6 separate regions of the Homo sapiens genome follow, and all the other regions are linked to region 4. The links are contacts of gene promoters, found by promoter capture Hi-C in human tissues and cell types (Jung and others, 2019). All regions are on one chromosome and are shown on one strand. Each heading gives the region's core, a stretch centred on a gene start or on the middle of the fragment in contact. The rest is flanking DNA. Distances are from core to core; before and after follow the strand shown. Region 1 overlaps HMGCL (3-hydroxy-3-methylglutaryl-CoA lyase). Region 2 holds the start of RCAN3 (RCAN family member 3). Region 3 overlaps NIPAL3 (NIPA like domain containing 3). Region 4 holds the start of IL22RA1 (interleukin 22 receptor subunit alpha 1). Region 5 overlaps STPG1 (sperm tail PG-rich repeat containing 1). Region 6 holds the start of FUCA1 (alpha-L-fucosidase 1).

The links. Contacts are between HindIII fragments. The study calls those that stand out against the background at their distance.
Region 1: a contact is called between a fragment that was not itself captured here and the fragment with the promoter of IL22RA1 in region 4, in 1 of the 25 tissues and cell types used here (mesenchymal stem cells).
Region 2: the fragment with the promoter of RCAN3 here is called in contact with the fragment with the promoter of IL22RA1 in region 4 in 2 of the 25 tissues and cell types used here (IMR-90 fibroblasts and heart left ventricle).
Region 3: a contact is called between a fragment that was not itself captured here and the fragment with the promoter of IL22RA1 in region 4, in 1 of the 25 tissues and cell types used here (adrenal gland).
Region 5: a fragment that was not itself captured here is called in contact with the fragment with the promoter of IL22RA1 in region 4 in 7 of the 25 tissues and cell types used here (IMR-90 fibroblasts, bladder, heart right ventricle and 4 more).
Region 6: the fragment with the promoter of FUCA1 here is called in contact with the fragment with the promoter of IL22RA1 in region 4 in 2 of the 25 tissues and cell types used here (IMR-90 fibroblasts and pancreas).

The regions. Positions count from the first base shown.
Region 1 is chr1:23,814,792-23,817,533 of GRCh38, forward strand. HMGCL (3-hydroxy-3-methylglutaryl-CoA lyase) reads right to left here. Exons shown (of 9, transcript NM_000191.3): 3 at 2,685-2,742; 4 at 1,884-1,979. Among named protein-coding and RNA genes, the nearest start is that of HMGCL, 9.3 kb to the right of the region's middle. The HindIII fragment of the contact is 3,794 bases long and covers 1-2,742 here.
Region 2 is chr1:24,501,326-24,505,871 of GRCh38, forward strand. It overlaps RCAN3 (RCAN family member 3), which reads left to right and starts at 1,511. Exons shown (of 5, transcript NM_013441.4): 1 at 1,511-1,825. RCAN3AS (RCAN3 antisense RNA) reads right to left here and starts at 1,057. Exons shown (of 2, transcript NR_144360.1): 1 at 1,023-1,057. RefSeq lists an enhancer at 197-296 and silencers at 900-1,072, 1,354-1,853, 3,360-3,560. The HindIII fragment of the contact is 6,582 bases long and covers 1-4,546 here.
Region 3 is chr1:24,449,529-24,453,753 of GRCh38, forward strand. NIPAL3 (NIPA like domain containing 3) reads left to right here. Exons shown (of 12, transcript NM_020448.5): 6 at 1-98; 7 at 3,880-3,976. Among named protein-coding and RNA genes, the nearest start is that of NIPAL3, 36 kb to the left of the region's middle. The HindIII fragment of the contact is 3,091 bases long and covers 303-3,393 here.
Region 4 is chr1:24,140,166-24,144,660 of GRCh38, forward strand. It overlaps IL22RA1 (interleukin 22 receptor subunit alpha 1), which reads right to left and starts at 2,975. Exons shown (of 7, transcript NM_021258.4): 1 at 2,875-2,975. The coding sequence starts at 2,917. The HindIII fragment of the contact is 7,521 bases long and covers 365-4,495 here.
Region 5 is chr1:24,397,079-24,401,913 of GRCh38, forward strand. It overlaps STPG1 (sperm tail PG-rich repeat containing 1), which reads right to left. Exons shown (of 9, transcript NM_001199013.2): 2 at 4,241-4,378. The coding sequence starts at 4,310. Among named protein-coding and RNA genes, the nearest start is that of STPG1, 14 kb to the right of the region's middle. The HindIII fragment of the contact is 6,357 bases long and covers 1-4,835 here.
Region 6 is chr1:23,866,649-23,871,513 of GRCh38, forward strand. FUCA1 (alpha-L-fucosidase 1) reads right to left here and starts at 1,642. Exons shown (of 8, transcript NM_000147.5): 1 at 1,250-1,642. The coding sequence starts at 1,638. CNR2 (cannabinoid receptor 2) reads right to left here. Exons shown (of 2, transcript NM_001841.3): 2 at 3,867-4,865. RefSeq lists a silencer at 1,054-1,273. The HindIII fragment of the contact is 22,530 bases long and covers 1-4,865 here.

The DNA of each region.
Region 1 (2,742 bases), core at 243-2,742, 330 kb before region 4:
AAAACCCAGCACCTCAGAATGTGACCTTATTTGGAAACAGCGTCATTGCAGATATCATTAGTTAAGATGAAGCCATACTGGAATAGGGTGGGCCCCTAATCCCATACGACTGGTGACCTTAAAAAAAGATGGCCAGCCGGGCGCAGTGGCTCACGCTTGTAATCACAGCACTTTGGGAGGCCGAGGCGGGCAGATCATGAGGTCAGGAGATCGAGACCATCCTGGCTAACACAGTGAAACCCCATCTCTACTAAAAATACAAAAAATTAGCCGGTCGTGGTGGCACACGCCTGTAGTCCCAGCTACTCGGGAGGCTGAGGTGGGAGAATCACTTGAACCTGGGAGGTGGAGCTTGCAGTGAGCCGAGATCATGCCACTGTACTCCAGCCTGGGCGACAGAGCAAGACTCTGTCTAAAAAAAACAAAAACAAAAGATGGCCAAGTGAAGACACAGAGACACAGAAAAGGTGGCCCTGGGAAAACGGAGGCAAAGACTGGAGAGATGCATCTACAAGCCAGGCAATGCCAAGGACTGCTGGCCACCACCAGACCCCAGCAGAGAGGCATAGGACAGATTCTCCCAGAGGCCTCAGAAGGAACCAATCCTGCTGACACCTTGATTTGGGACTTCTGGCCTCCAGACTGTGAGAGAATAAATTTCTGTTGTTTTTAAGCCACCCAATTTGTAGTGCTTTCTTTTTTTTTTTCTTTTTTCTTTTTTTGAGACAAAGTCTTGCTCTGTCACCCAGGCTGGAATGCAGTGGCATGATCTTGGCTCACTGCAACCTCCGCCTTCCGGGTTCAAGTGATTCTCCTGCCTCAGCCTCCTGAGTAGCTAGGATTACAGGTACCTGCCACCAAGCCTGGCTAATTTTTTGTATTTTTAGTAGAGACGGGGTTTCATCGTGTTAGCCAGGATGGTCTCGATCTCCTGACCTCATGATCCGCCCGCCCTGGTCTCCCAAAGTGCTAGGATTACAGGCGTGAGCCACCGCGCCCGGCCTGTAGTGCTTTCTTACAGTAGCACTAGGAAACAAACACAGTAATTTCTCTTAATTAAAAAAAAAAAAACTTTGATTTTCCCCAAGGAAACCACCACCACTGCCATCACCACCCTGGAAGTCACTCTTGAGAAAAAGCTTTTTTTTTTTTCTTGCTGTGTCACCCAGGCTGGAAGAGTGCAGCGGTATTATCATGGCTCACTGCAGCCTCGAACTCCTAGTCTCAAGCCATCCTGTGCCTCAGTCTCCCGAGTAGCTAGGACTACAGGTGCATGCCATCACAGCCAGCTAATTGATTTTTTTTTTTTTTTTTGTAGAGACAAGGTCTCCTTATGTTGCTCAGGCTGGTCTCAAGCTTCTGGCCTCAAGCTGTTCTCCGGCCTCAGCCTCCCAAAGTGCTGGGATTATAGGTGTGAGCCACTGTGCCCAGCCAAAAAAAGGTTTTTGCCTAAATACAGAACCAACGCCTCCAAAGATGTTCTTGTCTAAAATTGTAAGAAAGTTGGCAGATGCCAGCAACTACTGTTGAAACTCTTGTGGAGAGTTTGGTTACATTTCTCTAAAGAAGTGGATAATCAAAAGAGCTAACATTTATTAAGCAGTTACCTTTTATCTGGCTCTTGCTAAGCAATGTACATGCATCCTATCTTCTGAAATGCTCACAACTTCAGGTACTATCATTTAGCCCTATTTTATAGGCTTGTCAACTTGTCAAGATCACAGAGCAGTGAGTGGCAGGGCCAGGTTTGCCCCAGGGTCTGGCTGACAGACAAGCTATTCAGATGGACATCCCAGGACAGGGGACTGAGGCGCCAAGACAAGGCAGGGACCAATGCCATCAATCTCATTTCAGGAGCCCCCACCAACAAGCTATCCTCTTACCGCTGCCTCGAAGCCTTTCAAATTTGGGGTCAGGACTGGGTAGTTGATGCCAGGAAACTTCTGAATGCCCTTCAAGACTTCAGTGTGGTCACCCATCTAGGAACCAAGGGAGACATTGCCAAGTCATCACCAAGAGCAGACAGAGAGTTCAGTTAGAGAAAACCTTTTCATCACAAAACCTCTGTTCTCCAGAACTCTTAGCGAGTAATTCCTTCTGCAGAGCTGAGTCTCTCCAATACTTTTACTGTTTGTTTGACTGCTGATGGCTCAGAAGGGCCCTTGGTTTGGCTGAGATCCCAATTTCTCCATATGGCCCATACTGCCAGCTTTACATATGCAGAAACAGCAGGAATACTACTACCAGCCATTTATTGAGAATGTACTCTGGGCCAGGCACTGAGCTCAGCTCTGTGTTAAGCACTCCTTTGTAACAGGATGTTTCTTCTTCACTTAACTATCTTTGTGAAGCAGGAGTTGTCAGTCTTCCTCTTTTACAAACAAAGAAACCACAGACAGGCATAGAGGGTTTTAGACTTTAGGGCTAGAAGAGGTCATCTCTAACACTGAGGAGGGGAAGGCCTTAGCAATGTCACTGAGCAAGTCAGAGCAGAGCCAAGACTGAACCCAAGGCCCTGAATCCTGGGTCATGTTCTTTTGCTGCAACACAGTGCTATGAATCACCTGAGACCTCTCAAAGCCAGGGGCTTGGAAACCTATGTTCTCAACTTCTACTTGCTTCAAAGGCAAATGCAAAACTTTTCATCCCTAGAGAAAGGCCTTTCATTGAGGGCTAGGGCTCACCTGGGGAACCCACTTAGGAGACACAAAGCTGGTGGTTTCTATAACAGAGAGTCCTGCT
Region 2 (4,546 bases), core at 261-2,760, 360 kb after region 4:
CAGCTTGCCATCAATATTAGTTAAACGAATGAAAGTGAAGAACTTAGTTTAAGACAAGATGGGGAGCAGGAGCAGCACGGTTGGAGGCAGCAGGAACCACAGAAGCAGCAAGCAGGAAGTAGGAGGGGCGATCTGCTGGACATACCTCGGTGACTATGCTGGGCTCAACTGCTGGGGAGCCCTTGGGGTCATAATCCAACCCTGATTTCTTAGTTTACATCTAACAGGGATTAGATGTGCTGTACACATTTTAGTCCATCTTCCTGCCCCATGATGCAGGCGCTGAGTGCCTTTGATGTTAAGCTTCACTGTGCCTCACTTTGCCTCTGAAAGGTCTTGAGTGGGTAATGAGAGCTGATTTTCTTCTAACTGCACATTCCTTTTTTTTTTTTTTTTTGAGACGGAGTCTTGCTATGCTGTCCAGGCTGGTCTCAGACTCCTGGCCTCAACCGATCCTCCCACCTCTGCCTCCTGAGTTAGCTGGGACTACGGGTGCGCACCACTGCGTGACTGCGCGTCCTTGTAGGTGGGAGATGAGCCCAGTTATTTTCCCTGCTGTGTGACCCTGCTTCCTTCTCTGCCGGCTAAGGGAAGAGACACCAGCTGCCTTCCAAGTTGGGCTCAGGAGCTTTGTCATCATAGTTGTTATTGGTGGTAATAATACCTGCCAATGTAAGCCTCGGTCCTATCACTGAAACTCGCTCAACAGCTTAGACCCCGGCTCTTCCCTTTGCGTAATAGTTGTAATCATGTCCCATGGTCTCCTAAGGCGTCGGAGACAAGCAAGACTGCGTGGAAGGGTTTTTACACGAAAAAGAAAGCATTAAACATGTGGATTGTATGACAACGGTAGATAGGGCATAGGGTGAAGAGGAGTAAGAGGAGGAGGGAGAGCGGGAGGAGGGAGAAGAGCACGAGTGGGGAGGAGAGGAGGGGAGGGGATGGGAGGGGAGGGGAAGGAGTGGGTAAGGGGAAGAGGGTTGTACCCGCCAGGGCGGGACCCAGCCTGTGCCGTCCCACACCTTGTGCTAGCTCCAGCTCAGCTACCTGCGGCCGCCTCTCCTCGGGCAATGAGGCGCCGGGAAGCCCACAGCATCTGATAATATCCGGGCCGCCGGTTGCCGGGAGGTGAACCGAGGTAAACTCGCCGCGCGCGGGGCGCAGTGTACATAGTAACCAGCCCTGAGTAAACGTTCGTCATATTCCTATGAGCTGCTCCGGGGACTGTCCTACGGGGCTAGCAGGAAAAGGAGATCGGCTCTCTCCGCTCCCGGTGGAAAACGAGAAGGTCGCCAGAGGTCCTGTTTTCGGGGTGATCTAAAGCCCCCGCCCCAGCGCTACAGCCCAAGCCCCCCACAGGCTGGGGACCAGGAACCCGGAGGAGCGGGAGGAGGGCGCGCGCGGCGAGACACCCCCACCCCGGCCCCCGCGCGCCCCCGCCCCGGTCCCCGCCCGGGTCCCCGCCTTGTCCTGGGCTCTGGCGCCTGCGCCGCCGTGCGCGCGCCCTGCCAGAACAGGAGGGGACGAGGCGGGCGCGCGGCGCCGGCAGCCTAGCTCAGCCGGGACACCGCCCTAGTCCCAGCCCAGGGGGCCGCTCTCGCCGGCGTCGAGGGCGTGGCGGCGAGGCTGCTGCTGCAGGCGGCTCCCGGCTCTGCCTTCGGCCCCGCCCGCCGCCCACCAGGCTCCCAGAGGCCCCGCAGCTCGCGCCGTCCGGCTCCCCGCAGCCCCGTCGGGCAGCCCGGGCCCGTCCGCTGCCCTCCCGGCTCCCGTCCTGCGGCGGCGGGGCGTGCAGGTGAGGCCCCACGGCGCCCGGCCTCTCCAGCAGGTTTGCACCCAGCGCGGGGCGGGGCGGGGCGGGGCGGGTGGGGGGGGTGGTGCATGAAAAGTTAAAAAAAAAAAAAAAAAAAAAAAAGCCGCCCCGAGAAGTCCGGGAGGGGTGGGCACTCCGAGCCGCGGGACCGGGAGATGCTACCGCGCGCGACCTCGCCTCCCGCGACCTCGCCTCCCGCCGCACCCTTCTCGCGCGCGGGGTCTAGTCTGGCAGCCTCGAGGGTGGTGTCCCGGAAAACAAAACAAAAATGTTTTGTCTTCTCCACCAACGATTTTCTCCCACCAAGTGTGTTTGACCTTTTGAAAAGCCGACAGGCCCAGCCTGCCTGTGAAGGCAGGAGCGGTGTAGGGGCGCCTGGAAGGTGGAAGCCCCCTGTCTTTCTCCCTTGCCCCGCTTCCCCCACGGTGCGTGGATCACCATCGCATTAGTGACTCCCTAACTTCTTGAAACTTGTCTGTCTGCTTCTGTCCGCCGCCTGGACAGGTAGGGCAGGAGTGATCTGTTCCAGGTTGATTCTTCTAGCTTCCGTGCAAAATCTGATCATCTCCTTTAGAGATTAGGATTCTAGTGTAGGAAGCAATCCAGATCCGTGTTTCAGATACAAACAAGGATTATTTAAAGTGATGTTTTCCTGTAGTGCTGAAAGCCAAAAATATTCGCTTCCACTTGTTGGAAGCCACCAAGTACACCACATTTATTTGAACTTTTCATAGAAGTCTCTGATGTACTATTTGGCAAAAGAAGCAATTGATTTATCTGTAGCTGTGATTACATACGATGTAAAGTAATTTGTTTTAAGACTATTTCATTGGCTTTGGTTCAATATCTTAAACTCTGTAAACACATAATTCAGGAGCCAGATATGCATCACACAAATGTGTTCTTTTTGGTGGGGATTTAAATTGATCTAGAAATGGGCTTTCCATCCAGGAAGACTGTGAAAAGCTTGAAAACTGAGTCTCTTCTTTAGCCAGGTCATCAGCTTTACATTTTACTGCATTGGCAAGCCTTGCCTTTTCTTTTCTCTTCTCTTCTCTTTTCTTCTTTTTGAGACAAGGCCTCGCTCTGTCATCCAGCTGAAGTGCAGTGGTGCAAACACAGCTCACTGCAGCCTCAACTTCCCAGGATCAAGCGATCCTCCCACCTCTCAGCGTCCTGAGTAGCTGGGACTACAGATGCCGGCTAATTTTTTGTAGAGATTGGGTGTCACTATGTTGCCCAGGCTGTTCTTGAACTCCTGGGCTCAAGCCATCCGCCCACCTCTGCCTCCCAAAGTGCTGAGATTACAGGCATGAGCCACCGCACCCAGCCAAACCTTTTCTCTCTTAGCCTGAAAACAGATTTCAGTGCTTTTCTAGGAAACAAGATTTTTCCTGCTGTTGAAATATAACGTTTGTAAAGGTTTCAAACATGTGAACATTAGGTAACAGACAAGAGCAGATTTTATATGGTGTTAGAGTTGTTGGTTGAAGGACTTAAAGCATGAAAAATAGTGTGACGCGGAAATCCATTAGCCTGAAGCCTGTGAAATAATGGAAGCTCTAAAGTTCAACACCGTTTGTTACTTAGAAAAAAAACACAGAAGGTGGAGGTCGGACAGCAATCTCCACTTTTCCCCTAGAATGTAGAGGTTCTATCCAGGGAAAAGAAATTATACACAGCACAACAAATAGCATCAGTCTTATATATCTCAACTTCAGTTATTCTTTAAAACCTGTTGTTTTCATATGTTTTGTAGGCTGGTTTTTGTTGTTTATTTCTATCTGTCTCTTGCTGACAAATTCCTGGTGGAGTGGAACTTCAATTATAACAGGACCAATTCTAGGTTATCTGTGAAAACAAGACATGGGTCATTGAAACATACAAAATACAAAAATCAAATTTTCACCCGTTTTACTTTACTGTCGCACGAAATTTTTCTTACACACAGCTACTAAAAAATAGTACAGTTCTACCTGTAAGTGGTAAATGAGTAGAGAATAGAAGGTAGGGCTTCGTGATAGCCGTTCAGAACTTCGCATTGACGATCCTAAGTGGCTTTTTGTTGTTGCTTTGTTTTTTTTTTTCTCTTTTTTCTTTTTTTTTTTTTTTTTTTTTCTTTTTTTTGAGATCTCCTTCTGTTGCCCAGGCTGGAGTGCAGTGGTGCAAACACAGCTCACTGCAGCCTTGGCCTCCCAGGCTCAAGTATTCCTCCCACCACAGCCTTCTGAGTAGCTGGGACTACAGGCGTGCACCATGTGTTTTTTTGTAGAGACGGGGTTTTTCCATGTTGCCCGGGCTGGTCTCGAACTCTGGAGCTCTGGCAGCCCGCCTGCCTCCGCCTCCCAAAGTGCTGGGATTACAGGCATGAGCCACCACACCAGTCCAAGTGTTTTGTTTTGTTTAACTTAGTTGAAATTTTTAATTTAGAAATTTAAAAAAGGAACTTAGTAGCCCAAAGCACCTATGTTTATTTTATATATTTTATACACTTTATGTATTTTATCTTGTTCATTTTATAAATACAGAAAAACCAAGGGATTTTTCCCAAGGTTATACAGCAGGACACTTGTAGAGCTGATAATGGAGCACTTGTTTGCTTCCAGTATTGTTTGGTAGCATTTTTAACATACAAAAAAAGTGAAAAGTACATCTAGCTAAGATACTGAAATGTTCACCAAGTTGGGAAGCCTATTAATTTGAAAAATTATTATTATTTTAATCCTGGAGGAGAAA
Region 3 (4,225 bases), core at 598-3,097, 310 kb after region 4:
CCTACCTGCTGGTGACATTCGCACCCAACAGTCACGAGAAGATGACAGGCGAGAATGTCACCAGGCACCTCGTGAGCTGGCCTTTCCTTTTGTACATGGTAAGAGAAGCCTCCAGTCGTTCCCCCTGAGATGGCAGGAGGGAGATCAAGTCCTAGAAACCAGAAACGTGAATACCCAGCAATAGGGGATTCCGTGAGTTGCGGCACATTTTACCAGCATGAAAGACCGTGCTTCTGGAGAGTACACAGCTCATGGCGAAATGCTTGTTTCATTTATGTAATATCAAAACTCTACTGGTGGGAGTGTAAATTGGTACAGCCACTTGGGAAAAACATTTGACACTAATTACCAAATTGAATATCCACATATCCTATGGAGGAATTCCACCCCTCATTTTATACTCAACAGAAATGCATACATGTGTTTCTCAAATGACATGTATGAGAATGTTCACAGCAACATTATTTTTTATAACTCCAGGCTGGAGACTCCTCAAGTGCCCCCCAGCAGTAGAATGGATAAATTGTGTTGTATTCACACAGTGGATCACTGTACACAATGAGAACGAATGAACTGCCACTGTGCCCCACACAGTAATATCAAAACCATTATGATGTCAGTTTTATTTTTTAGAGGTGTGTATAGGTATGTGGTCATGTAATATACCTAGGAAGGCCTGGATGGGAAAGCAAATTCCATCAGTAGTTGGCTCTGGGAGATAGTGTTATGACTCAGTTCTTATTTCCTCTTCATCTTTATGAATTGTCCAAAATTTCTACAGTAACCATTTCAAACTTTTATGGTAAGGGGAAGAAAAAGTTAAAACTGTAAACCATTTAAGAATGTTATTTTATTTTTTTTCCCAGTATCACACTGCTGATAGAAGCCCAGGAGACACGGGAAATTTTGTCTCCTAACCCCTCCGCCAGAGCTCAGTCCTCTGCCCCAGTTCTATCCCATTTTAAGTCTATAAATCAACTGATTAAGGAAAACATCTAAAGTATGTGATAAAGCTACTGGTACGTTCTTGTTCCATGCCCTGCGCTGTGCTAAACACATTTTTATGTATCATCTCAGATTCTCTTAACCCTGTAAAGTAAATGTTCTTCCCATTTTATGGGTGAGAAAACCAGGGCTCTGAGAGGTTAGCTGACCTGCTCAGAGTTCATAAAAGCAGGGTTGGATTTGAAGGCCGGGCCCACCTGGCCTCAGGTGCCATCTTCCTTCCCCGTGGCCTGCCGACAAAGGTGTTCACTGTTTTCCTCTGACATAAACAGCCTGGTCTCTGATTGAGTCTAGAGGCCCTGGAACATCCTTTTTCCTCAGATTATCCACAAGGCAGAGGATCACTTCCCCTGAAATGGGGGCTGTGTCATTTCCCAACAGGCAGCCAGCCCCAGCATGTAGTTGGTGACAGAGCAAAAGACCGCCTCCTTGGGCAAAGCGTTACCCCAGAACAGGCCTTTCACTCAGAGGATTGAAGCCCAAGACTTCCTAAGTGCTGTGTGGCCTTAGCCAAGTCGCTTTCCTTCTCTGTTTCCCTCTCTGTAAAGTGGCAAGAATCTCTGGACTTAAAATTGCTATTGGGAGATCCAGGAAGTAGCATTTAAGTCACCCAGAAGGTGGTAGATGCTCAGTGAATGATTCTGTTGTCTTACTTCATCATGACTGGGAGGCAGTGCTGCCAGCTGGAGAGATTTGGCCAAACCAAATTCAGTCAATATTTATTGAGCGTCTGCTGTGTGCTAGACACTATGGTTATAAAAAATAAATGAGACATGCCCACAGTACTCACGGACTGTTGGGAGGCACCACATATGCACAGCCATCTCATGATATAATGTCCAGTGCTATTCCAGTGTTCATTTTAGAATCATGGAGAACGGGCCACATGTGGTGGCTCACACCTATAATCTCAGCACTTTGGGAGGCCGAGGTAGGAGGATTGCTTGAGCCCAGGAACTTGAGACCAGTGTGGGCAATGTGGCAAAACCCCGTCTCTATTTGGAAAAAAAAAAGTAAAAATTAGCCAGGTGTGGTGATGCATGCCTGTATTACCAGCTACTAAGGAGGCTAAGGTGGGAGGATAGCTTTGAGCCCTGGAGGTCAAAGCTGCAGTAAGCCATGATCACAGTACTGCACTCCAGCCTGAGTGACACAGTGAGACCCTGTCTCAAAAAAAGAAAAAGAAAAAAAAAATCATGGAGAATGGCTGAAGAATTGGGACCCCTCAAATGCAGGCACAGTGGTTGGGAATGTTGATGATTGACAGCACATCCACTTGATGAAGTATTCTGCAGCAATTAAAGATAATTATGACAACTTCACAAAACATGAAGATTGTTTATGGTAACTAAAAACAGCCCAGTACAAAATCGTGCATTGACTATAATGACAACTCGTTAAAATATGGATTCACTGGAACAAAGACAAAGAAGAAACGGGGAAATGAAAGCAGCTGTGTTTTATGGTCTCTAATTAGAAGGAATGTTTTAAATGTTTCAAAATGCCCATTAATGTTTCTGGGTTTTTTTTATACTAAATCAGCTTTGATAAGGGGTTTGGGATAGGCAAATGAGACTAAGCTGTTGTCAAAGTTTTCTGCTTTAGTTGCACTGGGCGCTAGGGCTGGCTTAACTTCTTGGGAAAGTGTTAGCAAATATCTGGGCTTTTAAGGGGTAGAAAGGAACAGTTGTTGATGCAAGGAGGGGGAGCTTCTCAAACTCGGACTTGCCATCGTCTAGTGGTAAGTTTCTACTGATAGAGCACCAGACAGTGTGGCCTAGCAGGAAAGTGCATGGGCCTGGGAGCCAGACTGTCCAGGTTTAAATTCCTCTGTGCCACGCCATCGTGGTAGTACCTGCTTCGTAGAGTTATTGTGCTGATTTAGTGAGTTTAACGTAGATAAAATGCTTAGAACACTGCCTGGCGTACAAGGAGACGTCATTTAGTGTAAGCTATGATTATGGGCCCATAAAAAGAATTCTTAACCCTACTCCACAGAGGGTTAACTAAGGTTTAGAGAAGTTAAGTGACTTACCCAAGGCCACACGACTAGTTTAGAGGCAGACCTAAGTTCCAGCCCAGGTCTCCCTGACTCCAAAGGCCTTCCTCATTCTACTCTGTGAAGCTTCACACTGGAAGCTTGGCTGGGAGCACAGGGAGTATATACTCATATTCTTTATTTATGTATTTATTTATTTTTTTGAGATGGAGCCTCGCTCTGTCTCCCAGGATGGAGTGCAGTGGCGTGATCTCAGCAATTCTCCTGCCTCAGCCTCCTGAGTAGCTGGGATTATAGGCAGATGCCACCACGCCCAGCTAATTTTTTTTTTTTTTTTTTTTGTATTTTTAGTAGAGACCGGGTTTCACCATGTTGGCCAGGCTGGTCTCGAACTCCTGACTTCAGGTGATCCACCCGCCTTGGCCTCCCAAAGTGCTAGGGTTACAGGTGTGAGCCACCGTGCCTGGCCTCACATTCTTGACCAAATAGGTTGGTGAACAAGTGTCTCCCTCTTGGACCAACCCATTGTTTTAATGGGGATGCCCATGGAGCAGTGGAGTGGGAAGAAACCATCTCAGCCTGATGCATCTTGGCCCTCCAAGAAAGAGTGGATATGAGAGCAGCACGTCACCCTCAAAGCTTCAGCCTCAGGACAACAGGGAATTCCTTCTCAGTACTAGCCAGGGATTAGAGAGATTCACTCTGTGTTTCCCTTTTCCCCTGAACGTCTAACAGTAGTTTGGGAAATGCTGAATCATAGCTCAGTCATTCCCTTTCAACCCTGTGACTCTGGTGATGGCCCAGCCCACCAGGGTCTCCCGGTCTCGCCTACTTCTGTGGTCCCCACTGACCCCCCTGCTTGCTGCCTTCCACAGCTGGTGGAGATCATTCTGTTCTGCTTGCTGCTCTACTTCTACAAGGAGAAGAACGCCAACAACATTGTCGTGATTCTTCTCTTGGTGGCGTTACTTGGTAAGTTGGCATCTGGATGATTGAGTTTTGCCACCACCAAGAAGCACCAAATGGAAATGTGGGTTTTGTTTGCAGAGCTGTAGCCGCTGGGCACAGAAGTTGCTTGAGACTGGCTGAGGTTGTTCTGTCTCCATCAGTGGCTCTGGGGAGCTGGGTCCCTGCTGACCGGAGGCAAACTCCTGTGCTCCAGGAGCCTCCAATCTAAAGGGAGAAAATAGCACTAAACAACTAGCCAAATTCATAGGTCAT
Region 4 (4,495 bases), core at 1,725-4,224:
CCCACTATCACTATCCCCATTTGATGAATGAGCTGAGGCTCAGAGAGAGCTGCCGCCCAGCATCACAGTTAGCATGTGAAGAACCTACAATATTCATCCCAGTGCTAGACTGGTTGTGGGGCGGATAGAGCGGGTTGGCGTCTGTGAATGTGTTTAGTGTCTAACAGGCCCCTATGTACATGTGTTGAGTCTGAAGGGAGGAGACCTGGGAAGGGAAGACATTCGCTCTGTAGGGAGGGGGCTATCTTGTTCACCCTTTTATATGAGGGTGGGGGGCTTCAGGGACCTGAGCACCTGATAAAGGGATGAATTTAGGGAGGAGGAGAAGAGAGAGGAGAAGAGAAGCTGGCCATTGAAGAGTCCACAGCCCTCTCTTCCAGGCTAGGTCTTTGTCCAGCCCACTTCTGCTTCTGTTAAGGGAAGGGCAGTGAGGGCCTGAGCCTCAAGGAAGGGGCTGGGGAGGGGCTGCAGCCTCTAAAGCAATCTGCACTGTAAACAAAGAGTCCTTAACTTATAAAACCCTTCCCTCAGGCCCCCAGGCTTGGGCTGTGGAGAGCAAGAGCCTGCGGGAAAATGGCGGCCCAAGCTGGCAGCTGGCTCGGAGCTCGGAGGCCCTGGCCGGCTGGCGTGGGAAATAAACAGGTGGGAAAATGTTAAGCAACCCCAGCTGGGTCAAGGCCTTGCGGCCTGGGTGTGTGTCTTGAATATGTCTGTGCCTCTCCTTCCCCAGACACGTCTACGACTGCCAGTGGGCCCAAGGTGTGAGGGAGCAGACAGTTATTGATTCCCCTACTCCAACTCTACACACAAGAGGGGTCCTCAGGCTTGGCGAGGACCGATGGGGACGGAAGAATGGTCCGACCCCGCTGCACATCCTCTGGCCAACCTCGAAGGCTGCCCTCCTCTCTGAATTTGGGTTCTGGCCCAGCAGCTGCAAAATGTCTTCAGGCTTCCTGGAGTCCCCAGAATGGGGCCTTAGGGATGGCGCGGGGAGGGGTCTACTGCCTCTACGCAAGGTGACGGCTGTGCCGTGGAGCCTTAGGATGTAGCTGACATCTTGTTTGGATGTGAGGCTGGGTGGAATTGGGGTCAGTTCTGGAGGGAGGGGTCCTGGATTCAGGGCTGAGTCTAAAGTTGAGGAAAGGAGTCCAGTCAAGGTCAGACCTGAACAGTGGCTTCTGGTTGGGTGGTGGGTCAGGGCAGAAGGGTGAGGGTGGGCTTTGAGAAGCCAGGCTCCATCAAGGCTTGGGGTAGAGTCTGCAGCGGGAACGGTTGCTGGTTGAGGTCAGTGTTCTGGGTGGGAAATAGAGGGCCCATCTGGGTTGCAAGGAGGCTGGTGGCTGAGGTGGGGGCATGTTGCCAAGGCAAAGGACCCTGGGCTACGTGGAGGTTGGCACCACTTTTCAGGAGGGAACTGCAGTTAGCTTCCTGAAGTGGGGTAAGTGAACCTAGGCCCACTCCTGTCTTTTAGGGATGTCAGGGTCTAACAAGATCTCCCCCTCTTCTCCCACCCTCCTCGCTCCTTTTCCTCCTCAAATCTATCATCCATTCCTCAGCCTGTGTTGCTTCGGCACTTCCCGGGTGAAAGTCTATATTGTGAAATCTGGGGAGACATGTGTTGTGTGGAGCCTGGCAGCCTGGCGGATTTATAAAAGGCAACTTGTTTTTTCACATTCATGTGGAAAAACAATGTTCTGTCAACCAGCTGGGAAGCTAAGGAAAAATACACAAACAAGAAACAATTCCACATGCTCTGGAGTCAGCCTAAGATTGGGGGGGTGAGGGCCCGGTGTGTGCAGCGCGAGGCAGCTGACCCTTGACAATCTCCTAAGGGCTATTTCTTGGGGTCCCCCATCTCAAAGGGCTGGGAGCCTCTAGGATTTCTAACCAGTATGGCTGAGGGTCTAAAGGGACGTGTCTTGGTGCCTCAAGGGGGTGCCTCACATCTTCCTGGAACGCCCAGCTTGATGCTGGGAAGCAGACTGGAGGGGGTCCCACAGAGCTGGAAGCCCTGGAGACGCAGGCAGCCCTGGCGGGACAGTGGCAGAGAAGGTGGGAAGCTCTGCCTTTTCGTGGGCCTCGTCCTGCACTTGAGCAAGGAGGGCCTGGCCGAGGCCATACCTGCTCGCCATCCTCAATCAGGACTATGCTTTGACTTCCTAAGGAAGTTCCCTGAATTTCATGCAATGCACCAGGAGAGCAGAGAGAGAGTCTAGGGTCTCATGTAACGTTCTCCATAATGATGAGCCCCCCACTCCGCTCACTTTATTGGCTTTGAACACTATGCCCTTAAGACCTGTTTCCAAATGAGTCCTGTGTCTTAAGACCTATTAATGTAGCAGACCTGGCCACTCTAGGAGAAAATGCTCTTTCAGATCTATGATAACAAAAGGGGCCAAAGAGGCCCTGCAGGGGCATGGAGGGAGGCAATAGTGAACTCAAGCTTCGTTTCCCCCGGTCCTTCCTCCTCCTCCCCTGTCAGGCCAGTGCCAAGTGAGAGGCAGAGGAAGGATGGTACAAACTGTGCCGACACCGTTTGAGGGACCGAAGGATGTCTGCCTCCTCCAGGCCAATTCTCCATTCACTGAGGTGCAGCGATCCAGCACCCCCAGTTCAGACAGCTGGCTATATCCCTCAAGACCCGAGGGTCCTTTGGGTCCCTGGAAGAACCCAGGGTCTGAGGCACCCTCTCATGCCCCCAGCAAACTAAGCTGGGCATTTGCTTCTCCGTGAACACCCGGCACCCTGCTCAGCCCTAGCAGGGGAGAAACTGAAACTGGCTATGCTCGGGCTGGGGAGGGTGCTGGGGAGATGACCCTGATCGTTGGCCCCTGGGATAAGGGAGGTCTGACCACAGGGTAGATGGGCACTCACCAGCCAGGGATCCCACAGTCAAGATGGTCAGCAGCGTCCTCATCGGGGCTGGCACAGAGCCCTCCCTTGGCCTCTACTCTGCCGTGCACAGAGAGAGGGCTGGGAGTCTTGGCGCCCTGGCAGCTGGCTCCACCCGGGCATGGGGCGGGGAGAAGGGGGTGGGTGGGACCTGTGCCGGTGGGGAGCAGGGGTACAAAGGTGTCCTGGCCCTGTGTGCTCTGGAATTCCAGGTTCTGGGCGGGATCTAAGGGAGTTCCCTTCCGACTTGCAGAAAACAGCAATAGTAACAGGCTGGCTTGTTTATCTGGTCCGGTGGCTGATTCATCCCAAGTGGTTTATCAAGGAGCTGAGGGGCAGAAAAGGCAAGAATAATCCACGATATGCAGCCTTATCAAAAAGCAATTTGGCACTGTGGATCAAAAGCCTACACCACATACATATCTTTTGCTTTAATAATTCTATTCCTAGGGGATTTACCCTGATGAAAATAACTGGACAACAGAGGGGGAAAAAAAAGGTCCCAGAATGTTTCTTGCAGCAAAGGAAAAGCTGTGACTCCTTTGCTTTTCTGGCAGGAGGAGATTGAGGGCACCCGATGCTCCTCCTTGATCCTCCATATCAAGGCAGGTCCCCACGCTTGGGGTGGGCTTGGGAACAGCTCTCCCCTAGAGAGGCCGTTGGGGGTGAGGAAGCCCAGCCGCTCTTACCTTGAGCCTTTGGGTCTAGGATCTGCAAAAGTTTAGAAAAAAAATGGAACTCAAACTTCAGTGATTCTTTCTGCTGTGCTAGAGATGGGGCTGAACTTCATGAATGGGGCTTTGGTTCGGGACGATGAAGATTCAGGCTGCTCTCCCATCATTTTGCCACGTAGGGCAGGATCTGCACATGAGCTTCGTGTGAATGAAGGGACAGGTGTTTAGGAAATGGTTTTCTCCTTCCTGCAGGGCCTGGAGAAGGTAGAAGGGCCCTGGGGCCTGGACTCTGGTCAGGGTGGACACGATTGGAGGGTCCTGCCCCTGGGGAGAGTTTGCCTGGCCCCAAGCACACAAAGGCAAGCGAAATTTTAGCAGGGATCCTGCCAACGGGTTGGGTGTAATGGGCTGTGATATGCTGAGATCGGTGTTTAAGTTTTTCTTTCCTGAATTGTAATTGTTATCAGCCCTGATTGCTAAAGTTTGTTTGACAAAACAGCCAAATCTAAGCTGTGCTTTGGAGGAATTAAGGTAGGGCCCATGCCAGTCATTTCCTGAAACTGCAGGAAACTACATTTTCTAGACTCCTTTATCAACTGCTTTCTGATAGGTTTAGCCCCTGGGGGAAGACTGGGGAGGCAGAGATCAGAGCATTTCTCCCCTCGTTTTCTGTTTGAGTGGCTTCCCCAGCAATGGCCATATCCCTCTGCAGTTCTGGCTCCCTCTGGACAGTCCATCAGCCAGGCAACCCCTTATGTCTTTCTTGTTCCTGTTTGGAGGCCAGCTCCTGGCTCTGGCAACACCTTCTCCCCTCATCTTTCCTTTCAGTTGGTGGGATGGCACAGCTTCCTGCTTTGGGGAAATCTCTGAACTGTCTGTCCTGATTAGTGTCCCAGCTCCTTCATCCTCTGGGTGACGAGCTCCTTTAC
Region 5 (4,835 bases), core at 973-3,472, 260 kb after region 4:
AAGAGGGTCATTTCATAATGGGGTCATTATGAGCAGTCAGCTCCTCAAGAGAACATAACAGTCCTAAATGCTGATGTACCCAATAAAAAGAGATTGAAAATATAAGAAGCAGAAACTGATAAAACTGCGAGAAAAAATAGAAAATTTCACAATTATAGTCAGAGATCTCAAAACATCTCCCTCGATAATTTAAACAAGTAGATAGATCAGTAAAGATATATGAAACCTGAACAAAACTATTACCTAACCTGACCTAATTGGCATTTATAGAACACTCCACCTATCAATTCCATACAAGCTGTCCCAGAAAACTGAAGAGGAAAAGACATTTCCAAACTCATTCAATGAGGCAACCACTACCTGATACCAAAACTATATGGCATCATTACAAGAGGGAAAAAGATCACTAGAGGTCAGCAGCCCTCATAAACATAAATACATAAATCCTTAGAAAAATTTTAGCGAATCAAACCAGACAATATATAAAAAGATAATACATCGTGACCAACCCCAGTAATGCAAAAATAGTTTAATATTTAAAAATCAATATAATTCATCATATTAACGGACTAAAAAAGAAAAACCATACGAGTATCTCAACAGATTAAAAAAATCATATACCTGTAACATGTACTCTTTTTGTCTGGCTTCTTTCACTCAGCATAATTACTATGAGATTCATCTCTGTTGCTGATATATCAATACTCCATTGCTTTTTATTGTTGAGTAATATTCCATTGTATAAAAACATGATGTTTATTCACTGGTGATGTAAATTTGAGTTGTCGCCAGTTTGGGGGCATTACAAATAAAACTGCTATGAGCATTTTATCTACAAGTCTTTAAATGGACATAAGCTTTCATTTTGCGGGGTAAATGCCTAGGAGTGGAATGACTAGATCATATGTTTAACTTTTTAAAAAACTGTCAAACTATTTTTCATAGTCGTTGTACTTTTGCACATCCCCACTATTAGCGTATGAAAATTTCTATGACTTCACATTCTTATCAGCAATGGGAAGTCTTTTTAATCTCAGGCATCCCATTAGGTATGTAATGGTATCTCATTATGGTTTTAATTTGCATTTCCCTAATGACTAATGATGCTAAGCAGTCCTTCATATGCTATTTTCCCTCTGTATATCTTTTTTTTGGTGAAGTAACTGTTTAGTAGATACAGAAAAAGCTTTTCATAAGATCTAATATCCTTTGATGATTAAAAGAAAAACTCTAGCAAACTAGGAATAGGAGCAAACTTTGTTAATCTGATAAAAGGTGTCTATAACAAAAGCCTATAGCAAACAGGATACCAAATTGTGAAATATTAAAGGCTTTCCCTTGAGACAGGGAGTGAAACTAGTACAACTGCTATTATCCTTCTATTCAACGTTGTACTGAAGGTCTCTAGCCAATACAAACGCCTACATAAAATATATTAAAAATACATAAAATATATGGATGAGAAAGGAAGAAATAAAGTTGTCATTTTCACAGATTACAAGATTGTGTATGGGGAAATTGCAAAATAATCTGTGGACACCCTATAAGAGGTAATAGTTGGATTTAGTGAGGTCACCAGAATCAAGGTCAATATACAAAAATCAATTAATTTTTTTGTACAGCAGCAACAAACAATTTAAAATAAAATTTAAAATTACCATTTATAACAGCATAAAAATCAAATGCCTACAATAGATATAATGAAGATATGCAAGACTTCTACATAGAAAACTCCAAAACATTGAGAACAATTTAAGGTAACTTAAATAAAAGGATCTATACATGGATTAGAGAAGTTAATATTTATTGTAAAGATGTAAATTATCCTTAAATTGATTTCTAGAATCAATGCAATCCAAATTAAAATGAGAGTAGAGTTTTTTTAAGACATTAATAAGCTGATTGTAAAATTTGTATAGCTACCCAGATTTGATCATCGCACATTATATTCTTGTATCAAAATATCATGTGTGCACCATAAATATGTACAACTATTATGTATCCATAAAAATTAAAAATAAAAAAGTAAAATAAATTTATATGGAAATGCACTGGGGTCAAGAATAGCCAGCATAAACAAAGAAGTACAAAGTTGAAGGGCTTATGCTACTAAAGAGTTATTATAAAGTTACAGTAATTAGGACAGTATGATATTTGAACAGAATAAATAATCAAGAAGCAGAGCTGCATATGCCTGGACACTTGATTTATGACAAAGGTAGCAACAGCAATACAGAGTAGTAGAGAATGAGCAGCCTTTCAATAAATGGTGCTGGGTCAACATGGAAAACAACAGACTCGGGCATCTTCCTCAATCAAAAACAATTTCAAGTGAATTGTAGATCTAGATGTAAAAGGTAAAATAATAGAGTTTCTAGAAGAAACTATCTTGGGATGGGCAAAGATTTCTTAAGTATTAATAAAATAGACATGTACACTAAACATAAAGAGACTGATAAATTGGGCTATATTAAAATCAAGAGTTTCTGTGTCTTAGCACATTGTTAAGAGAGTGAAAAGGAAAGTCCCAGGATAAGGGATGACATTTACCTACAGCTAACAAATGACTTGTTTCTAGAATAAAGAATCCCTATAAATAAGAAAAGGACAGAATGGTTTAAAGAACTCCTATAAATAAAAAAAAGAAAAGACAAGACAAGACCCAGCAGAAGAAAATGGGCAAAAAAGTTGAACAGTCACTTCTCCAAAGAGAATATCCAAAAGGCCAGTCAACATGAAAAAGTGCTCAATCTCATTGATCTCAGGCAATGCAAATTAAAACTATTATGAGCTTAAAATGTTGGTGAGGATTTGGAGCAGCTGGAATTCACATACATTGCTTGTAAGGAGGTAAAATTGGCACAGCTACTTTGGAAAACTGTTTGGCAATATCAACTAAGCTTACCCTAAACATACCCTATGACCCAGCAGTTCCACTCCTCAGGTATAGACCCATGAAATACATAAATATGTGTCCCACAAGACAAGTACAAGAATAGTTACAGAAGTTTTTATTCATAATAGCCCCAAACTGGAAACAACCTAAATGTCCTTCAGTAGTAGAATAGATAAATAAATTGTGGTGTATTCAAACAAGAGTAATAAAATGAACAAATTACTCATAGATAAGACAAACCAACATGAAGTTAAATCTCTGAAACATAAGCCTGAGAGAAAAGAGCTCATATTGTATGATTCACATTTACATAACATTCAAAAACAAACTAAAGTTATTAATGATATGAGAAGTCAGGATAACCGTAGTGTTTACTTTTGCAGGGAAGGGAGATAATATCTGAGAAGGGACAAGGGCTTTTGAGATGCTGCTGACATTCTGTCTTGGTCTGAGAAGTTATTCCATAGGTGGTGTTTTCTTTGTGAATATTCATTAAGCTATACAATTAGGATTTGTGCACTTTTTCTGAATATATATTTATGCTTCAATTTAAAGAAATGTTAAAGAAAAAGAGAGTGCAAAATCAGAGGATAGGAGGAAGAAAGAGAGATCTCTCTGGATTTGAGAGCAGCAGCGACTCTGGAAGCCCACCAGGGAGGTGGTAACAGCCTCGAAAGAAAAAGCGCTGGAGCCTAGGGGGATCTCAAAATGAGGTTTCCTGTCTCAGCAATAATTCCTAAGCCACACTAACGAACCAGAACACTAGTTGGCGAACACTAGCAAAACCAAAGGGAGCACATGAGCTGGGACACTGGGGATCTCACCAATGTGGATGGTTGACCAATGACCTGAGTATTCCTCCCCACCCCAACCCAGCCTCCTGGGATCACACTAACTATTGGGAAAGTTCTGAACTTGAAACAATCACGAGGGAGATAGGATTTATGCTGATAATGGCTGGAGTTATCCTTTCCAACAACCCAGCAGAATGGGGACTTGCAGTCATAACTCAAGTTGAGTTCTAGGAAATAAAAAAAGATCTCTTACATATCTAAATTTGAGGATAGAGATTCTTACCAGATACATGGAACTAACAAGTCTGGGTTTTGTTTATTAGTTTTTTATTTTTTAACAGACTTCCTCCTTCTTCTCTCATCCTTTCTTCTCAGTTTCTTCCCAATCGTCACACTTGAAACAGTAGGGCCTAAAGCCACCTATTTGGTATGCCTGTAAGGATGGCCCTGTGGATATAACCCAGGACTTACTATTCCCCCCAAATTTGCTCTTATGTACTAAAATAAGCATATGTCAGGAGCTATCTCCTCCCTGCAAAGACACATGTACCTTTCTGTACTTCACTGGCACGTCTGGGATGTTTGCCAGTGCGTTCATTTTTCTGTGCAGAGTTGTCCATGTTAGCAAAATTCTGTGACGTGTTCCATTTGTTTGATGAAAAGTTCTACTGCATGTTCTCCTAAGCACCTGAAACAGCAAAACACAGCATTTGTAGAGATCATTTCACATTGGTTAATTATTGCAAATGGGTTCTGTTCTATCTACAGGGTAAACTGAGAAATGGTGTGGGTGCCGGCTGAGATCTACCAAGTGCAGTGACCCAAAGTCCCAAGCACATTGTGCTGGTGCTGCCTGCAGTAGGAACTGCGTAAGAAGTCACTGTTGATGTTGCTTACAGAACTACTGAAGGCTTGGATTTTATTTTTATTTTTTATTTTTTGATACGGAGTTTTGCTCTTGTCACCCAGGCCGGAGTGTAATGGTGTGATCTTGGCTCACTGCAACCGCTGCCCCTGCCTGGGTTCAAGTGATTCTCCTGCCTTAGCCTCCTCAGTAGCTGGGATTACAGGCGCCCACCATCTGTAATTTGTATTTTTAGCAGAGATGGGGTTTCACTATGTTGGCCAGGCTGGTCTCGAACTCC
Region 6 (4,865 bases), core at 392-2,891, 270 kb before region 4:
ATTCTCACCTCATGGGCCTTAAAAAACTGGCAGAGGACCAATCCCTCTGGCCAGTTTGCAGACCCTGGTGCAGTGGAAACAACCTTGACGTCATGAGACCTGGAGTCTAGGACATTATATTCCTTCCTCTCTTTGGGCCAGTCATCTCATCCATGAAATAAAAGGCATGGAAAGAGGTTATCTCCCAGATTTTAATTTTTCTCACTTGTAAGTTATGGATCCCTAAGGCCCCTAGGAGACAAACACTTCCTCTGCTTAATCAAGTCTTATACTCCCATACATTTAATGGCAAACACTAAATGCCAGTTGTAACTTCTCTTTAGTACAAGTGAATTCAAAGTTCAAGAGAAACGAAAACCCGGAAGATGGCTGAGGAACCAAGGTAAGGATGGAAGACTGCTCTAAGCCAGGGGCTGGGGAAACCTCCCCGCCTCCATTTTTACTCTTCTCCAACCCACTTCTCTCCCAGCAGCCGAATGAATCTTTCTAGAAGCTGATAGTAACCACTCCCTGACTTAACATCTGTCAATACAGGGCTCTCAAGGCTCACTCCTTCAGGACAAGCCCCTGCCTTGACAACTTCATGGGTCGTGGTCTCCCCTTATCCCCACCCCAGCGCTCTCTACTCTGTTCTCTGAACCAGCCACCCCCAAGTTCCAACAGTTCTCAGAGAGAGTCAGACCCTTCCTGGACACTTCCTACGTAAAAGGGATTGAGAGGAGCAAACGAATGACTATCTGTACTGTTGCCCAAATACACTGCACACCAGAACTCCCCTCTCTTTCCCTCTTAGAGACATTAGGGCTCAAAGGGTTGTATCCTTATATAACCCCTTTCTACAACCATAGAAGAGGCTGCAGGGAGGCTGAAGTGACATGTCCAGGTTCACAGTTGAATTAGAACCAGGCTCCACACCACTGATTTGAAACCCTGGAGTCCTGATAGTGCTGTCAATCTGAAAGGGACATCAGGTATGGCCTAACTCAGCCCTCTCGGTGCACAGGTGCAGATACCCAGGGCTTCCCAGCCTGCCATCTCCCTGAACCTTCATTTATCAGTCCCCAGTCAAACGCACCTCCTCCTCCTCATCAGGTGTGCCAGGCTCACTCCTGTGGCCGCAGGAGGCCACACGCGGGCCCCGGGGTCATGGGGGCGACCGGCAGCTGCGCGCCCCAGCTGGCCGCCCAGCCCCACCTCCTGTTTGCCGCCCGAGCCGGGAAGGGGCGCCGCTCCCCGGGACCACACTCACTTGGCGCCCGCGGCCTGGAAGAGGTCGGCCCACTCCTCCGGGTGGAAGAAGCGCGCAGTGAACTGCGGTCCGAAGTCGGCGTAGCTGAAGCCGGGCGGGTAGTTGTCGCGCATGAAGCGCTGGTACTGCGGCCGCCCCTCGCCCTGCCAGTGCCACCAGAACCACTCGCTGCCCCAGGCGGGCACCGAGAACACGCCCCAGTGGATGAACACCCCGAACTTGGCTTCGTCGAACCAGGCCGGCAGCGGCCGAGAATCCAGGCTCGGCCAGTCTGGGGTGTAGCGGCGCGGAGGCTGGGCCCGACGCACCGACTCGGCCGCTCCGAGGAAGAGCAGCAGCAGCAACAGCGCGGGACCCGCCGGCCGCGACCTCATCCCCGGAGCCCGCATCGCTACCCCTCAGCGACGCGGCCCACTCTTAACGCGCAGGTGCCCGCGGGCGGCTCCGCCCACTCTGACTAACGATTGGCCCGGAAGGAAAAAGGGGTGGGACAACCTGGACAGGTTGGCCCGAGTCGCTTCCTCCTCGGGTCGGAGGAGCGCCCTCTGGTGCTCAAGAAGGGAAAGACGCAGGGAGGCGTTGACAGCGCTTCGCTGAAGGACGAATAAAAACCTTGAAAAGGGACTTAACTGCGAGGTTAAATCGTGGAGGTGAGCAAGGCCCAGTGTGTGCGGAGAACTCACATTTAAGAAGGAGTCCATTGAGCCGGACGCAGTGGCTCACGCCTGTAATCCTAACACTTTCGGAAGTCGAGGCGGGAGGATCGCTCTGAGCCCACAAGTTGGAGACTAGCCTGTCTCTATAAAAAATAAACAAAATGAGCCTGGCGTAGTGGTGCACGTCTGGAGTCCCAGCTACTCGAGAGGCTGAGGTGGGAGGTTCGGGATCGCTTGAGCCCGGGAAGTCTGGGCTGCAGTGAACCGAACCGTGATCACGCCTCTGGGAGTAGTCCATTTTGCCGCAGCAATCCTGCAGGGGTAGGCTGAAGTGAGATCACGAGTTTTATTTAGTGATCACTTGGGAGCCATAGGGGGCTTTTGAGTTGTCCTGTAGCACAAGGCTGGAGGAGGAGATAACAGACCGGAAGGGTATCTAACAGCCCTGACAGAAATAAGGAGGTAGAGGGATGATGGGAAGAAACGTTATGAAAGGAGAGGAAAGAGAAAACTGGGTACTGAAAGAGGGAGAGCGGGCAGGACCGTTTCATCTGTCTGGTATTTACTGAGCTTTCTTTGGGAATTCCGAGGCATTTCAAATAGCTTAGTTTGTACCGAGATACCGCCACTGCACTCCAGCCCCTGGGCGACAGAGCCAGACCAAGGAAGAAAGAAAGGAAGGAAGGAAGGAAGGAAGGAGGAAGGAAGGAAGGAAGGAGGAAGTGGAGAGCCAAGAGGACCCAGGATTGCCTGGCAGGGAAGTTCCCCAGTTCCTCTGCAATTTGCACATGCTGCACATACTCAAACGGGAGGTGAGGCCATTAGCGAGGGAAATACGGAAGTCAGAAGTCTCTGAACAGACAAGGTGGCTCACGCCTGTAATCCCAGCACTTTGGGAGGCCGAGGTGGGCAGATCACCTGAGGTCGGGAGTTTGAGACCAGCCTGGCCAACATGGTGAAACCCCATCTCTACTAAAAATACAAAAATTAGCCGGGCATGGGGTGCGCCTGTAATCCCAGCTACTCAGGAGGCTGAGGCAGGAGAATTGCTTGAACTCGGGAGGTGGAGGTTACAGTGAGCCGAGATCGCACCACTGCACTCCAGCCTGGGCGACAGAGTGAGACTCGGTCTCAAAAAAAAAAAAAAAAAAAAAGAAAAAGAAAAGGAAGAAGAAGTCTCATGACTCCACGTAGCACACTCAGTTCCCACATGCCAGTGAGAGAATGGCAGCACATCAGAGTTGGGACTTTGAAGATCCTAGGCACCATCCTCTTCCCTACCCTTCCCATTGTACCGAGGAGGGAACTGAAGCCCAGAGAGGGCTGGGGGGCTGCCCAAGATCATGCAGCTAGTTTGAGTCAGAGGTGGGACTAGAATACGTGTCTCCAGGTGCAAAATCTATGCCTTTGTTCATGCTGCTTCTTTCTTGCACCTCATGAGAAGTCAGAGCCTATGTTGACAGAACCCAGCACTTCCTCACTCTGGCAGTGACAAGGAGAGAAAATGACTATTGCTGAATCACAGCTGTTTTCTTTTCTTTTCTTTTCTTTTTTCTTTTCTTTTCTTTTGAGATGCAGTCTTGCTCTGTCGCCCAGGCTGGAATGCAGTGCTGCAATCTCAGCTCACTGCAACCTCCACCTCCTGGGTTCAAGCCATTCTCCTGCCTCAGCCTCCCGAGTAGCTGGGTTTACAGGTACGCCACCACGCCTGGCTAATTTTTGTATTTTTAATACAGATGGGGTTTCGCCGTGTTGGCCAGGCTGGTCTCGAACTCCTGACCTCAAGTGATCCGCCAGCCTCAGCCTTCCAAAGTGCTGGGATTACAGGCATGAGCCACTGCACCCGGCCTACAGCTATTTTCTTTATCTTCTGTTTCTTTTTCTGCCAGATTATGTTGAAATATTGCCCAAAACAGTAAGCATGAACACCTTAGGAAAAAAACCGAACCCATCCACACACATTTTCTAGTAATCGGTTTGCATAGTGGTCTTTAATGTTACAGAGCTTGTCTTGGGGAAGATAAAATGGGACATTGTGATCTTCAATTTATTTCTCCTTATCCACATAACCAAAATGTGAACCTGCAGGGACAGGTGAGAGGCACTGATGTAGAGTGGACAGAACTGGAAGTTAGGAAACCTAGGTTTGTTGCACTGGACACCATCTCGTTTGTCTCCCTGAGCAAGTCTTGTCCACTGTCTGGGCCCATTTCCTCAACCAAACAACAAGGGCAGTTCTCAGTGATATCTAGGTCCCTTTTGCACCCTTGTTCTCCTCCCTCATAAGCTCTGCTTCTCCACTTAAAGCAGACATAGGGGCTGGGAGTGGTGGCTCACACCTGTAATCCTAGCACTTTGGGAGGCTAAGGTGGGTGGATCACTTGAAGTCAGGAGTTCAAGACCAGCCTGGCCAATATGGTGAAATTCCATCTCTACTAACAATACAAAAATTAGCTGGGCATGGTGGCGGGTACCTGTAATCCCAGCTACATGGGAGGCTAAGGCAGGAGAACTGCTTGAACCCAGGAGGCAGAGGTTGCAGTGAGCCAAGATTGCATGCCACTGCACTCCAACCTGGGTGACAGAGTGAGATTCTATGTCAAAAAAAAAAAAAAAAAAAAAAAAAGCAGAAATACAGTGTGGTTCTAAAAGAAGAGAAGTAGAAAGTGTGGAGTTGCGTTTGATCAAATGATTTTTAGAATCTAGTTTTATTCATTCAAGAAGTATTTACTCAGTGCTTGTTTGTGCCAGGCACTTGGGCATTTTCTTTGCCAAAATGAGAAAGGATTCCACCGATGAATAAAGAAAGGCATGCTTCAACTTTAAGGAATGACAGTATATAAACATGCAAATTCACTTTTAAACATTTATGCTACTTGTTTGCCTTACAAAAAGATTGGTGTCTGGATTAAAACAAGATTTGATTTTCCAAAACATACGTCAGAGCTTTTCAGAAACAG